2 separate regions of the Homo sapiens genome follow, and region 2 is linked to region 1. The links are contacts of gene promoters, found by promoter capture Hi-C in human tissues and cell types (Jung and others, 2019). All regions are on one chromosome and are shown on one strand. The core of a region is centred on a gene start or on the middle of the fragment in contact, and the rest is flanking DNA. Distances in the headings are between cores, read along the strand shown.

The links. Contacts are between HindIII fragments. The study calls those that stand out against the background at their distance.
Region 2: a fragment that was not itself captured here is called in contact with the fragment with the promoter of SNN in region 1 in 2 of the 25 tissues and cell types used here (lymphoblastoid cells and small bowel).

The regions. Positions count from the first base shown.
Region 1 is chr16:11,664,288-11,671,774 of GRCh38, reverse strand. It overlaps SNN (stannin), which reads right to left and starts at 3,320. Exons shown (of 2, transcript NM_003498.6): 1 at 3,235-3,320. RefSeq lists an enhancer at 2,021-2,120 and a silencer at 3,228-3,647. The HindIII fragment of the contact is 16,457 bases long and covers 1-7,487 here.
Region 2 is chr16:11,408,293-11,415,779 of GRCh38, reverse strand. It overlaps LOC400499 (putative uncharacterized protein LOC400499), which reads left to right. Exons shown (of 67, transcript NM_001370704.1): 44 at 1,272-1,438; 45 at 2,827-2,939; 46 at 4,453-4,534. Among named protein-coding and RNA genes, the nearest start is that of RMI2, 67 kb to the right of the region's middle. RefSeq lists an enhancer at 888-1,859. The HindIII fragment of the contact is 4,647 bases long and covers 2,594-7,240 here.

The DNA.
Region 1 (7,487 bases), core at 2,071-4,570:
TTCTAGCCCCTCTGAGCAAAGCTGTGTCTTGCAAGCTGGGTAACCCCTCGCCCTGATCCAGTAAAGCCCACAGGATGCAGGGGACAGGGACGGGCCACAGCTTGGGTTGGGGAGATGCCCAGGCTGGCACATGGGAATCCTGGCCCACCCAACAACCATCATGACAGCAGCTCACATTCATTCCCACCAGCATCTGATCCAGAAAGGCTGCAGCCACCTTTGTTCACCCTAGCATCTCCATCTGGCAGGTGAGGAAACTGAGGCGCACGCAGGGAGGTGAAGCAAAAAGCCAGAAGGCAGGATGGGAGCCCAGAGGGGAGCCCAGCAGAGCCAAGGGGTCTTCCAAGTGCAGAGGGGCCAGGACCCAGAGCACAGCCTGGGCCTTCCATCTCTGGGCAGGCTGGAGTGTCCCCTCTGCCTGGCATTTGAAGCCCAAGGCCATCTGGATCCCCCAAACACACACCCTCCTGCTCCATGTGCCTTCAGTCTTGCCATCCTCTGCCAAGGGGGTCCTGACTCTCGGATCCCACCCACCCACTATAAAAGCAAGATCCAAGGCCCAGGCTCTCCAGAACCCCCTGCCCCAGCATCCTCAAACAACCCCAAAGGAGGTCAACTGCAGCACAGGACACACTCTGTCTCCCGGCAGAGCCCACACATGTCCCAAGGAATAACAACTGCAAGACAAGCCTGAGCCATGCCAGGTGAGCGGGGGCCTGCACCGCCCTTGGCCACTCCTCCCCAGCAGCCCAAGCTTGCAGGTGTTACTGACACTGTCCTGCCGGGTTTGCCAAGGCCCACAGAGATCCGTAACTGGGACCCAAGGAGCATGGGGGCAGAGCCGGGGGTGAACCCCACCCCGTCAGAGCCATTCAAATGGACAGTCCCTGCCCCAGCTACCAGAGAGGGGACGGGTATCCTCCTGTCCTGCTCTCCCTCCCAGGACCCCGGCTTGTCTGAGCCTGATCCCACTCCAGAGGCCACTCCATGTGCTCTAGGCCCGGGGGGCCCACAGACCGCAGTAGAGCAGGCTGGAGTCCCCTCCATCCTCCCAGACCAGCACTCACTTTTGCGGCCTGCTTCCGCCCAGCCAAGCAAGCTGCTCCTCTTGGCCTCAGTTTCTCAATGCGCAAAGCGGATACGAGTCCCTGACCTCATCTACCAGGTCGTGGGGAGGATGAGAAGTGGTAAGAAAAGTGAAAACAAAAGGGACATGAGGTCACCAGGTTTGCATGTCACCAGCCACACCTTCCTGTGTGCTACAGCAGGGACAAAGGGAGAACACTGAGCCCGAGGGATCCCCAAGCCCACCCCCAGGGCCAGAAGGGCACAGAGCCTGGCCCAGGCCCAGTGCCACAAACACCCCTTCCCCAGGGACACGCTGCCTCCTCCTAACTCAACCGGGCACATCATGAGCATTGCCGGGCTCACCACCAGCAAAACACCCCCGCCTTGCAGCCGCCACCTCCTGAGGCTCCTTGACAGACGCCAGGAGGGCTGCCCTGCTTACAGGGGACCAGCCATCCCTACGGGGCTTTCAGTACTGCCTCCCCCCATAAAGCCACCTGCCAAGGGTGCCAACAAACTCTTCAGCGAACCCCGGGTCACAAACCAGAAACGTTTCCTGCCCCAGGTTCTGACTGGGAAAACAGGGTTGTAGGGAGAAGAGGGCACTGCTGGACACAGCCAGGACGAGGCGGGACGTCCGTTCTGCCCTGGGCCTCCAGCAGCCAGTGGGACACAAGGACGCATCACACAAGGCCCCAGCCCTCCAGAAGCCAGGACCAAGAACGGCCGGATGCCAGTGGGACTGACACTGATGGGGCTGTGCCCAGCTCTCTGGCCAGTGTTATCTCATCCTCCACCCCCACCCATGACACCCCCATCCTCAGAAGAGGAAACTCGCTCCAGAATCCCCTAGGTTCCCCAGTGGCAAAAGAGGAAGCGGGAGCCCGCAGAGCTCTGAACCGGGACTGCCCCAAGGTCAGTCGGGGTCTTCCTCGGGCCAGGCCAGAGGCTCATGCCCCCACCCTGTGAATCACCCGCTGGTCATTTTCACAGGCTGCCCCAGGGTTGGCCTGTTTGGCCAAACAACTTTGCTTGTAGATGCCGGAGAAAGTTGGTGGCAATTATATGTGCCAGACACTGAGATAAACAGCTCACGCAGATGTCTCCTTTCTGCCTCAAGACAACAGGGCAGTTGAGCTATTACTGTTCCCTCTTGGCAGATACAGAAATTGGTGGCTCAGAGAAGTTAAGTCCATTGCCCAAGGTCACACAGCTCAAAAGTAGACGCGCAGGGATTCAAACCCAGGCAACCTGCATCCAAAATCCCGCATTTCGACCCTGACTCTAAAATGCCACATTCTCCCTACCTCCTCTCCCGCGTGCCTGAGGGGCCGCGGACAGGTGAACCCCAGTGTGGCCCTCGCTGGGGCGGGCTGGGCGACCTGGGCTGGGTGCTGGGGACTTAGGGGTGACAGCGCCCCGGCGGCTCCCGAGTGCTGAGCGCGGGCGGCGTGGCAGGCGCGGTGCCAGGCGCGCTCCGCGCACCCTCCCGTTCCACCCTGCCCGGCGGCGCCGGCGTCTCCCCCACTCCACGGAGGAGCAAAGCGAGGCTCCAGGGAGGAGGGGGCTCGGCCCAGGGGGCGACAGCTGGAGAGGGGACGGCAGCTGGGGAGGTAGCTCGAATCGGCCCGACGGAGGCGGGGTGTGGGACGGGGACCAGGGGAGCTAGGCATGCCCACGCCGCGCAGCCGCTGCCCACGGAACCGGGCGCCGAACGCTGCGGCCCGGCCTCAGTTTCCCTACCCGCGAGACGGGCGCCGGACGTCACCTGGACCCCTATCCCCGGAGCCCTCCCCGGAGCTCCCAGAATTTTGAAGAACCCCGAAATGCCGGGGGAAGGCGGGAGCGTAGCTGAGGACGGGCGGGGGCTGCACGGGCGGGGGCGAGCGCCCCGCGATCCCCACAAAGCGGCCTCCGCCCCCCGCCGCCTCCTTTGTCCGGATCTCGCCGCAGCGCCGCTGACAAAGAACCCCAGCCCGCGGGCGCGGCCCCTGGAACGGACCCTCCCCCGAGCCGCGCCCGCCGGGCCGCCCCTCCCCCGCCCGCAGACCCCGGCCCGGCCCCGCCGCCGCGCGCGCCCCTCCTCGTCCTGGCCTCCCCCTTCCCGCCCCCGGGCCCCGGCGCCCCCGCCCGGCCCGAGCGCGCGGCCTGCCCCGCCCGGCTCACCATGGCGCGGCAGCGGCCCGGCCCGATCGCCCCGCAGCAGCCCCGCGGGCCCGGCTCCGCCCGCCCGGTCCGGCCGCCGCGCACTCGGGACGCAGGAGCCCCGCGCTGCGGCGGGCGGGGCCCGGCTCCTCCCCGGCTGGGGACGGGGCCTCCCAGAAAGGCCAATGGGAGCCCGCGCTGGGACGGCGGGGCGGGGCGGGCCGGGGCGGAGTCACGTGTGCTCGGGGCCGGCAGGCGGTGGGGCGGGGGCTGCGCGCGGCGGGCGGGCTCGGCCCTGGCGAGCGCGGATTGGGCGCCCGTGGGTACGGGGCCCCACTACAGGCGCCCTTCCTCTGCCAGCCTCATCCTGACCCCGGCAGGCTGCCTTGGTCCCGCCTGCTTACAGCGGAGGAAACTGAGGCACGCTGCACGGAAGAGTGCTGCATACTCCTCGAGAGCTGAGAGCGGCGGGGAATCCGGGGCAGGGGCAGGGGAGAGGCGCGACCGCTGAGGTGAATGACCTTGCTTCGGGAGGAAGCTGGGCATCAGTCGTTCGCGAATTCATTTATGTATCATTCATCCGCCCAGTCAGTCGATGGCGGAACACTGACCACGTGCCTGCCACGCCAGTCGTCGTGGGAGCAGCCACGAGCCAGACAAGGTCCCGGCCCTGACGAAGCTCTCATTCCTCTGCGGGATGAGGCTGTGAGGCATTTGCACCCCTCTGCCACCTATAATCATAGTTATTTTTAGCATAATTACCCGGTGGTTTGGCCCCCACCAAATGCCTGCCCTGTATAAACAGCCCAACACATTTTATTAAGATGACTCCGGAAGAAAGAATCTTCCCATTTTACAGATGAGGAACCTGAGGCTCCAAAGAGCTGAAGTCCCACAGCCTGCTCCTGATGGAGAGAGGGTTTTGAGGCCAGGCCTGTCTACCTGGGAAGACAGAGGCTCCAGTTATTGGAGTAATCTCCACTCATCCACCCCAAGAAGGCCATCGGCGAGAGGACACCCCAGCCCTGGGGCCCACAGAAGGGGTGAGGGTGGGTCCCTCAAGGCTTCTGTGGCCCAGGGGACTTGAGAAGACAGGAGGGGGCAGGGCGAGCTGGGACCTCCTCCTGGGAACGGGGGCCTTATTTGCTGGAAACTTCTTTCCCATTCTCAAGCAGAAGCCTCTGGAAGAGCATGGCGGGTTGGGCTCACGAGGCTGAGGTGGCCAGGCCCTCACTCCCTCCACTCAGCCTCGCTGGGCTTTCTTCCCTGCGCCCAGTGCACCAAGCCTTTCCCACCGCCAGGCCTTTGCCTATGTGGCTCCCTGCAGCTGGAACTCTTCTACTTCATCTTCCCGATCTCAGCTTAAGTGCCCCTTCCTCAGGAGGGCCCTCCCTGATCGCCCAGCCAAGAGTAGCTCCCTTGGGGTTTTTTGTTTTGTTTTTGAGACGGGGTCTTGGTCTGTCACTCAGGCTGGAGTACAGTGGTGCAATCACAGCTCACTACAGCCTCCATCCAACTCCTTCCTGGGCTCAAGCCATCGTCCCACTCAGCCTATATCTATGAATGTGGGCAGATTTGACGAAGCAATTTTTTTTCTTTTTTTTAGAGAGAAGGTCTTGCTCTGTCGCCCAGGCTGGAGTACAGTGGTGCAATCATAGGTCACTGTAACCTGGGCTCAAGCGATCCTCCTACCTCAGCCTCCCAGGTAGCTGAGACTACAGGTGCATGCCACCATGCCCGGCTAATTTTTTAATTTTTTGTAGAGATAGGGTCTCTTGTTGTTGCCTGAGCTGGTCTCAAACTCCTGGGTGATCCTCCTGCCCCGGCCTCCCAAAGTGCTGGGATTATAGGCTTGAGCCACCATGCCCAGCCTACCCATTGTGAAATTGTACATTTTTGACATTGTGTGATGAACTTTTGGTCTTCTCTCCCAGGACTAGGTGTATTGCACTCACTGCTGTGTCTACAGAACAGTGCCTGCCACACAGTGGGTGCTGAATACATGGATGTTGAATGAATGAATGATCGGACTGCAGAACTCCAGGGCGGGTTCAGCGGCAGCCTAGTCAGGAAGCCAGGCACAGGAGGTGAGCTGGGAGTTGCGCAGGAAGGGAGGACAGAAAGGCAGAGGAGAGCCCAGCTTCAGCCAGCTGCCCCACAGGCCAAAGCCGGGCATCTCAGAACAGCTCCGCCCCCACATCTGCCCAAATCCTGCCCCATCAGCCACACCTAGGAGCCCAGAATGGAAGGAAATAGGTTCTTCCCACAAAGCCAGTTCCAGCAGCCTTTGTGGTCCCCGCCTCAAGTTGGCAGAGACTTCATTAGTGGTGAGGACCTGGGAGGGGCAGGCTAAGAACCCCAGAGCCAGGACTGGCAACACGATGACAGGGGAGGCAGGGACACTTAGAGGGGAAAGATTCTTGGGGGAAAATGGTGAGGGAGATTCAGCATGGCATAGAAGCTGGGAGTCAGATTGCCAGATTCCAGGCTTTCCTGCTGGGTGGTTTTGGAAAAACAGCCGAACGTTTCTGTGCCTCAGTTTTTTCGTCTGAGAAATGGAGATGAGGCCGGGTGCGGTGGCTCACACCTGTAATCTCAGCACTTTGGGGAATGCCAAGGCAGGGGGATGGCTTGAGCTCAGGAGTTTGAGAACAGCCCTGGAAATGTAGTGAGACTCCTATCTCTAAAAAAGAAAAGTTAGCTGGCCGTGGCGTTGTGCGCCTGTACTCCCGGGTACTGGGGAGGCTGAAGTAGGAGGATTGCTTGAGCCTGGGAGGTTGAGGCTGCAGTGAGCTGTGATCACACCGTTGCACTCCAGCTTGGGTGACAGTGAGCCCTGTCTCAAAATAAATAAAATAAAATAAAATATACAGCTTCTGACCCACTAGGTCTGAGCCCCAAATCCTGCATTTTTCAAAAGTTCCCGAGTGGTGCTGATGATTCAGGGACAGACTTTGAGCAGCAAGGGCGAGTTCACTTGCTGAAAGTCACAAGGTAGTGGGCTCCAAGCCTGCACTGGAGCCCATGAGATGGGCTACAGGATCCTGCGCTTAACTGCGACCCTAACTGCTTGCTGCAGCCCCACCTTTCTCTCCCCAACAAAGAGGAGGCAGGAAGTATCGCGCCCCTCCCCCAAGCCCATTTCCTCTACCTCCCTCCGTAGTGACATCTGGCCTCACGTCCCCGGGGTTCGTCCTTACAGAATGGGATGGAGGTTCTCAGATGCTCATTAGCCAGGAGGATAATTGAGGGCTTGGGATGAGCTCACCCCAGCTCCCTGGGGCTTGCTGGGGTCCAGCTGGTGTGCCCTGTACCAGCCTGGCCCTCTGCCCACTCCCCCAGCCGCTATAAGGGCTGGGACAAGGAAGGGGGTTGCTCGGCGGGGTGGAGAGGCCTCAGCCTCAAGGGAGACTCTACAGCTGGGACTCCCTGCTCGGGTGGGCGGGCCTCTGCTCCTGGGGCATCTCTATAAGGGATCCAGGCCTGAGAACAAAATGAAAACTGCGTGGCCAGAGGGGATTTTTCCTGAAGGGTGAGATGTGAACCACTGGTGAGGTCTGCAGGGTGAGGTTAGGTGGAAGGCAGAGAGGGCATCACTCACCTCTGAAACCCATAGCAGCTCCCCATTCTAGGGGCAAGGCCTCCTTTGCTGCTAGTGTGGCCTGAGCATCTCTGTAAGGCTGGCTCAGCCCCCTTATGTCCAGGAGAGAGCACAGACCTCAGGCTCAGAATCCCGGGCAGTTGACACTCTGCAGCTAGAACTGAATGATGTGTGGGTTTCTGTGTGTGTATGTTTTAGTTACCTTCTGTGTATGATGTGGGTATTGTGTTTCTGTGTATGGTAATGACATACCCATTGCTTTTTATTTCTTATTTTCTTTGTTTTTGAGGCAGGGTCTTGATTTTTTCACTCAGGCTGGAGTCCAGTGGCACAATCACTGCTTACTGCAGCCTTGACCTCCCCGGATTCTCCCACCTCAGCCTCCTAAGTAGCTAGGACCACAGGTTTGTGTGACCCCACTCAGCTTTTTGTTTTGTTTTGTTTTTGTTTGAGACAGGATCTCACTCTGTCACCCAGGCTGGAATGCAATGGCGTGATCTTGGCTCACTGCAACCTCTGCCATCTAGGCTCAAACAATCCTACCGTCTCAGCCTCCCGAGTAGCTGGGACTACAGATGTACCACCACACTGGGCTAATTTTATTATTATTATTTTCTCTTTCCTTCCTTCCTTCCTTTCTCTCTCTCTCTTTCTTTCTTTCTCGTTTCTTTCT
Region 2 (7,487 bases), core at 3,668-6,167, 260 kb after region 1:
TCCCGACCCAGGATGCCTGGTATGGCCGCCCCCAGCCAAGAGTGACTTCTCCCTTCTCCCACTGCTGTCCAGTCTGTTGTCCCTACCTCCTGGGGATGCTCTGCCTGTCGTTAACATTCTTGGTATCTCTGACAGCCGGGTGCTCCCAGGTGTGGGGATTGTGTCCCCTGTCTCCTTGTGCCCTGCATGTAGTAGGTACATGTGGCTGAATGTTGAACGAGGAAGGAAGGAAGCATTTCCTGAGGCCACCTGCATGTCCCACAAGTGGTCCTCTCCCGTGTGTTACCCCATTCACTCTGGACGCTGTCCCTTGAGGCGGGCGGGCTGTGCCCACCTCATAGATAAGGAAGTCGAGGCTCAGGGCTGTGGAGCTCGTCCACCCTGCTGGCCAGATGGGAGGTGCTGGAGCCTGGCTGAGTGTCACTTGGGCCTGAGCCGTGAGCTGCACCCCACGGGAACCTGGCATCTGATACAGAATCGGCGCCATCTGTTTGCTCTGGGGCTCCTGGACCCGATGAGTTTCTCTGTATAGCAAAGGGAGTTTAAGTCAAAGAAGAAACTCCTAACTGTGAGCCAAAATCTCCTGTTCTGTAGGGGGTGATGGGAAGGACGGGACCCTCCAGCCAGGGCCAGGTGGCTGCAGGTGGATGTCAGTGGCCGCAGTGGCCATTTGTGGGGAGCAGACGTCATGCTGATTCCTCTGCAGGCTACCCCTCCCATAATCCTCAGGAATCCCTGCAGAGAAGCCTTTCATCCCACAGTCATTCAGAAAGCACTCACTGCACCCCCGCTGCATGTCAGGAGCTGTCCTAAGGGAAATCCCGACCCCAGGCACTGACCTTCTGGTGGGGTGAGAGTTTGGGGAGCAGGAACCTAATAAGTAAGTGAGCGAGGTCATTTCAGGTTGTGCTGGAAACCACACTCCAGGGAGATGGGATGGAGGATGCCTGGCAGCCAAGGACTGGGAGGGACTTCAGATGGGCAGTCAAGGGAAGCTTCTTGGAGAAGGTGTCATTTCAGCAACTTCAACTTCAATGAGAGAAGGAGCCACCCAGGCCTGGATCCTCAGGGACAAATTATGACAGATGATGTCACGGAGGCTCAAAGGGGTTGACCCCACCCAGCACCCACGCTGTGGCAGCCTTGCCCTTTCCTGCTGGTGTTGTGTTTGAGGGCCACAGGGCATGGCCTCTCATGTAGTCTGGTGTGTTCCTGGGCTGGGAAGGGAGGTGAAGCTGTCTTCAGTAGCCCATGCCATTCTCTGTCTCTAGAGACCCAGACCCAGGCCAGGGTGGCCCTCCATGGTGGGGACAGTGGAGTCAGCATGGACCTGGCAGCCCTGGTGGCTCGGCCACGACGTGGCCCACTGCAGCTGGTGGCCAGTGCCAGCCACACAGTGCCTGCTCTCCAGAGGCTGGGCCTGCCCTTCACCAACCAGGTAAGGAGTGGATGGAGCAGGACCTCCCTCCACATTCTGTTCTCTCTGTCCAATTCCTGGTGTGCAGAGGACCCGCTGTGTGCAGGGTGGGTGGGGAGGACCAGGCCTTGGGTTTCCCCAGTACTTGACAATTTACAAAGGCTTCATTCATAATCGCTATAACCAGGTCTGCTGAGCAGTCTCTGCATTTCCAATCACAGGGCTGGTGTGGATGGGTGCCCTGGAGCCTCGTCTGGCTCCTGCCCTGCGTCCTTCTGCCCTGCAATCTTGGGTCAGAATCAAAGCTCCTGCTTGTCAAGCCCTGCCCTGTGCCCAGCCCCCTTCAAAGGGTTTATGGGCGTTCGTCAGTCTCATCCTCCTCAGGCTCCAGAGAAAGGCAGGATGGCACCGTCCTTACCAAGGCCCTCTCCGATGTTCAGATCCCAGCTCTGCTGCTTGCCAGCTGTGTGGCCTTGGGCAAATTCCTTCACCTGTCTGTGCCCTCATCTCCTCATCTGCAAAACAGGGATGATGATATTACCTATAATGTGGAGGTTGTGAGGATCGAGTGAGTTCATCCCATTAATGCCTGAGTAGATCCTTAAGCACCTGCTGTGATGAAGGCAAAGATGAAGAAGAAGATGCTGATGGTCTGACAGTGATTATTATCGTCATCATCATCATCTCTGGGTCACACGTGAGAGTGTGGGTGACTTGCCCAAGGTCACCTAGCAAGTTAGCAGCAAAATAGGGACTCAGACTTGGCACCCAGGCCCTTCCTCACGGTGTCCTCCTGCCTCGGTGAAGAGGAACCCACATGGGGCCATGCCCTGACCACTGTCACTTGGCATGAACTCGTCCTGCTTGGCTGGGCCCTCCTTCTCCAAGAGCCACAGAGCCTATTCTAGAGCCAGGCGCCAATGCTTCTTTCACACCCTCCTGTTTCAGATTACCCAGCAACCCCTGCCCCAGTCCACTCTGCTGTAGGAGGAGGGAGCAGCTCCCAGGGGGTCAGGGGGCCAGGATGTCACCCCTCCTGCAAAGGATCTCAGCCCTGTACCCCACAACTGAGTGGACTGGATACCCTGTGCCCTTGGCTTCATCTAAACCCTTTCCTGGCCTCGAGGTCAGGTGACAGGGAGCCCTCCCGGGAGCACATTCTCTGTCGACGTCTGGGCTGCAGCTGTCCTTTGAGGTCCCTCGGTGGGCACTGCCAACCTGAGCTGCAATAGGGGCTGACTCCGGCCCTGTATCCTCAGCACCTGTGAGAGTGTTGGATGAGCCAGGCCATGCTGGGCTTAGGGACAGGGACGTGCTGGGCTATAGAGCTCGGCTGGGGTCCCCACCCAGCCTGTGAGGCTCCTCAGGCTATGTACACCCACACATCTCACAGCCTGCTCCCTCCTCAGCTCGTGTTCCAAGGACTCTGGGAGGCAGAAGAGATGAGCTCCTCACTGCAGCTGACCTGCGATTCTCAGGCCACCTTGGTCCTTGACGTCCGTGGCCAGAACCAGGCAGTCAGGTGAGGGGGGCCCCCAGGAGGAGAGGAGTCGGGGGAGGAACCATTGACTGGGTACCTGCTGTGCACCATCGCTGGACACAGCACCTCTCAATTCTCTGCTCAGCACTGCTGCATAAACAAGGGCAGGGAGGCTCAGAGAGGCCAAGTAACTTTTCCAAGGTCACACAGCTATAAAAATCCCTCATCCTCTCCAGGCAGGGCACTGATGAGTTCTCAGTCTCAGAAACTAAGTGCATCCAAGGCCCCAAACACTTATTAATAACTATTACTGCCCTTAGGCCTGGGGGCCTGGTGAGGCGCTTGGTGCTCTTACGTGTGCAGTAAGTCAGGGGCCACCAGCCAGGCTCTAGCCCTCAGGTCTCAGCAGTGAGGGAGGGGGTGAGTAAGCCACTTGTTGAAGGGGTAGACCAGTGGTTCTCACCTAGGGGCGAGTTTCCCCCCAGGGACTTTCAGCAAAGTCTGGGGAATTTCTGGTTGCTACAGTGGGGAGGAGGACACTGTGAGAGTCAGTGTATAGAGGCCACGGATGCTGCTAAGCATCTTACAGTGCCTAGGACACACCCACGACTGTGAAGGCCAGGAGTCAAGATGTCAGCTGTGCCAAGGCTGAGACATGGAGGTGGAGAGGAACCTGACAAGAGGGTGTAGCACCCTGGAGTTAGCAACAGGGGAGAGAGGCCTGGCACAGCGGCTCACACCTGTAATCCCAGTGCTTTGGGAGGTCGAGGTGGGAGGATTGCTTAAGCCCAGAAGCTCGAGGCCAACCTGGGCAACATAGTGAGATCCCCATCGCTACAAAAAATCTTAAAAATGAGCCTGGTATGGTGACGCATGCTTGTAGTCCCAGCTGCTCAGGAGGGTGAGGCAGGAGGATCACTTGAGTCTGGGAGATCGAAGCTGCAGTGAGCAGAGATGGCACCACTGCACTCCAGCCTGGGTGACAGAGAAAGACCCTGTCTCTAGTGAAGAAGGAAAAAAAAAAAAAGAAAAAGAGAAAAACGTGGAGATTGTAACCACCCTGGCCTGGAGGAGTGAGGGGAGGGGTGCTATGTGAGGAGGATCCCTGGGAGGGAGTCAGGGGGTTAAAATCCTGCTGTCCAGACCCTGCTGGGACTCCCATGGGACCAACCCAAGAAAGCTCATTGATGGACTCATGGAAGACTTGAAGCCCAGAGCCATGTTTAACCCTTGATACCAATGGGGAAACTGAGGCTCAGGGGAAGCTGAGGCTCAGAGAGGGACAACCAAGAAGCTTGCTCCTGGTGCCAGAGCTAGGCAGAGGCCAAGCCAGGACTCAAATCTAGGTAACTTGGCTCCAGAGTCCAGCCCTAACCAGGGCACCGTATGGCCCTTGGGCCTCGGGGTGTGTGAATAGCCCTGAACTGGGCCACTGATGTGATCCTGGCTCTCTGACTCTCTCTCGGGGAAGTCCCCTTGGTCTCGACATGGCCCTGGGGGCACTGGACAAGGTGCTGTCTTGCCAGCTTCAGGCCTTCTCTTTCCTTCCTTCTAGCAAAGAGCTGCTGTTCTCAGGCCGGCATCGCCTCCCCTTCCTCCTGGGTCTCTGCCCCAGCTCAGCCTCAGCCTCAGCTAAGGTAACTGTGCCCCAGCTGCCTGGCTCCTAACTGGTTCCAGATGCCCAGCCCGAGGCAGGAGGGGGCCAGGCCCCTCTGGGGAGTGTTAATACATGCACATCTGTTCACCAGCCTGCAGCAGGCTCCGGTGGGCAACCCTCGGAAACCCCTGGCTCCAGCTTTCCCAAACATACCCAGGTTTACATTCCTGGGCCAGCCCCCGTGGCCCCCAGTCAGGCTCACAAGCCCTTTGGGAGATGGGGGAGGCCTCCTCACCCAGTGCCTGGCGCCTGGCATTGCCTCACCCAGCCTGGCACACTTGTAGAAGCTGGAGCAGATGACACAGCCCTTTGGAGCTGAGCCAGCGTCACCCCCATCTCTGCCCTGCATGCAGGACTTGAGGGGTCGTAGGAGTGCACAGGAGGGCCCAGTAGTCTTAGGCCAGGTTCCTCTGTCCCTCTGAGCTGTCATTGTCTGTGCCCAGATCCGGAGCTCCTGGAGGGCATGCCTAGTGCCTGGCACAGGGCCCAGCACACAGTAGTTGTTTAGTAAAAAAAATAGGGCATGAATAGGTGAGTGCATGCATGAATGGTTACATCTGTAACTAGTCACTTCATTTTCCTACCAGCCACCATGTTTTGGTAGGCACCCTCCCAGCCCTGGCCCAGGCCACCTTTGTCTACAGAGCATGCGCTATGTGCTGGGTCCCCTGCCGCATTTACACGTGATTTTGGAGTTCCTCAAACTTCGCTCCAACTGCACAGTCATTCAGGGAACTTCTTTATTTATTTATTTAATTTTTAAATTTTTTTTGAGACACAGTCTCTCTTTGTCACCCAGGCTGGAGTGCAGTGGCACAATTTCGGCTCACTGCAACCTCCGCCTCCCCGGTTCAAGCGATTCTCCTGCCCCAGCCTCCTGAGTAGCTGGAATGACAGGCGTGCGCCACCACGCCTGGCTAATTTTTGTATTTTTGGTAGAGACAGGGTTTCACCGTGATATCCAGGCTGGTCGCAAACTCCTGACCTTAAATGATCCACCCACCTCGGCCTCCCAAAGTGTTGGGATTACAGGCGTGAGCCACTGCGCCCAGCCTTATTTTTTGTTTTTAGAATGTCTTTTTGAGACAGGGTCTTGCTCTGTCACCCAGGTTGGAGTGTGGTGACGTGATCATAGCTCACTGCAGCCTCAAACTCCTGGGTGCAAGTGATCCTCCTGCCTCAGCCTCTGGAGTAGCTGGGACTACAGGTGGTACCACCACACCTGGCTCCATTCCGGGAGCTTCTTAGTTTTTTCCCAAGTTTTATTTTGAGTTATTTCAACCTATATAAAAGCTACTGTAGGACAGTGAACATTGACCAATTGTTAATATCTTTCCATCTTTCTTATCTGTTACATAAATTTGTATCATCACACATTTTTTCTGTATCATTAAGAATTAATATAGAGACGTTTCTGAAGACATCAACTTTTTACTCTGAAATACTTCAACTATTTCCTGTAACAAGGATATTTTCTGATTTAACACGGTAATTACAACATTCCAGAAACTGAACGTTGAATTAATACCTTCATTTAATGTACAGCCCATATACAATTTCCCAGCTTTCCCACTAATGTTCTTTCAAAAAACTGTTTTGTTTTGTTTTAAATCCGGGATGCAGGCCAAGATCACGCAGCATTCGTAGTTGCCATGTCTTTTTAATTTTCTTAATCTAGAACAGAGGTCTACAAACTTTTATTGTAAAGTAAAATGTTGTGGGGGTTGCAGGCCTTATGGTCCCTGTTACAACTACTCAGAATTGTCACTGTAACACAAAAGCAGCTATAGACGATATGTAAGTGAATAGACATGGCTGTTACAATAAAACTTTTTATAAAATCAGGTTGTGGGCCAAATTTGACCCAAAAGCCAACTCCTGATCTAGAATATTTTCCTTCTACACCCTACCCTTCCTTACCCAATGTTTTATTTTTTTATTTTTTTATTTATTTTTTCTTTTTTTGAGATGAAGTTTCACTCTGTCACCCACGCTGGAGTGCAGAGGCGTGATCTCGACTCACCGCAACCTCCGCCACCTGGGCTTATGCAATTCTCCTGCCTCAGCCTCCTGAGTAGCTGGGATTACAGGCATGCACTACCATGCCTGGCTAATTTTTGTATTTTTGGTAGAGATGGGGTTTCGCCACGTTGGCCGGGCTGGTCTTGAACTCCTGACCTCAAATGATCTGCCCACCTCAGCCTCCCAAAGTGCTGGGATTACAGGCATGAGTCACTGCATCTGGCCCCCCAACATTTTATTATACAATTTTTTAGACACTAAAAAATTGAAGTAATTTTACAGTGCATACCCACATACTAGATTTTCCTGTTTACATTTTATTTCACATAATCACATAGCTCTCTATCCATCCATCTTATTTTTGGATACATTTCAAAGTAAGTTGCAGATATAATTCCCCCTAAACATTTTATTGTCATTAACCACCTTCAGAAAAGTCCCAACTGGATGCAGTGGTTCACACTCATAATCACAACACTTTGGGAGGCCAAGGAAGGAGAATTGTTAGAGTTCAGGAGTTCAAAACAGCCTGCAACCTAGGGAGACCCCATTGCTACAGAAAATTTAAAAATCAGCCAGGCATGGTGGTGTGTACCTGTATCTCAGCTACCAGGGAGGCTGAGGTATGGAAGAATTGCTTGAGCCCAGGAGGTTGAGGCTGCAGTAAGCTGTGTTCACACCACTGCACACTCTAGCCTGGATGACAGAGCAGACAGACCCTGTCTCTGTCTAAAAAAAAAAAAAAAAAAAAATCCTGCACTGACAATTTTGAAGTGTCCAGGAAGTTATTTTGCAAAACATCCTCCTAATGTGGATTTGTCCGATTGTTTCTTGAAGATAAGATTCAGGCTGAACATTTTTGACAAGGGGTATCACTAACGAAATGACGCCTCTAGTGAGCGCGTTAAAAA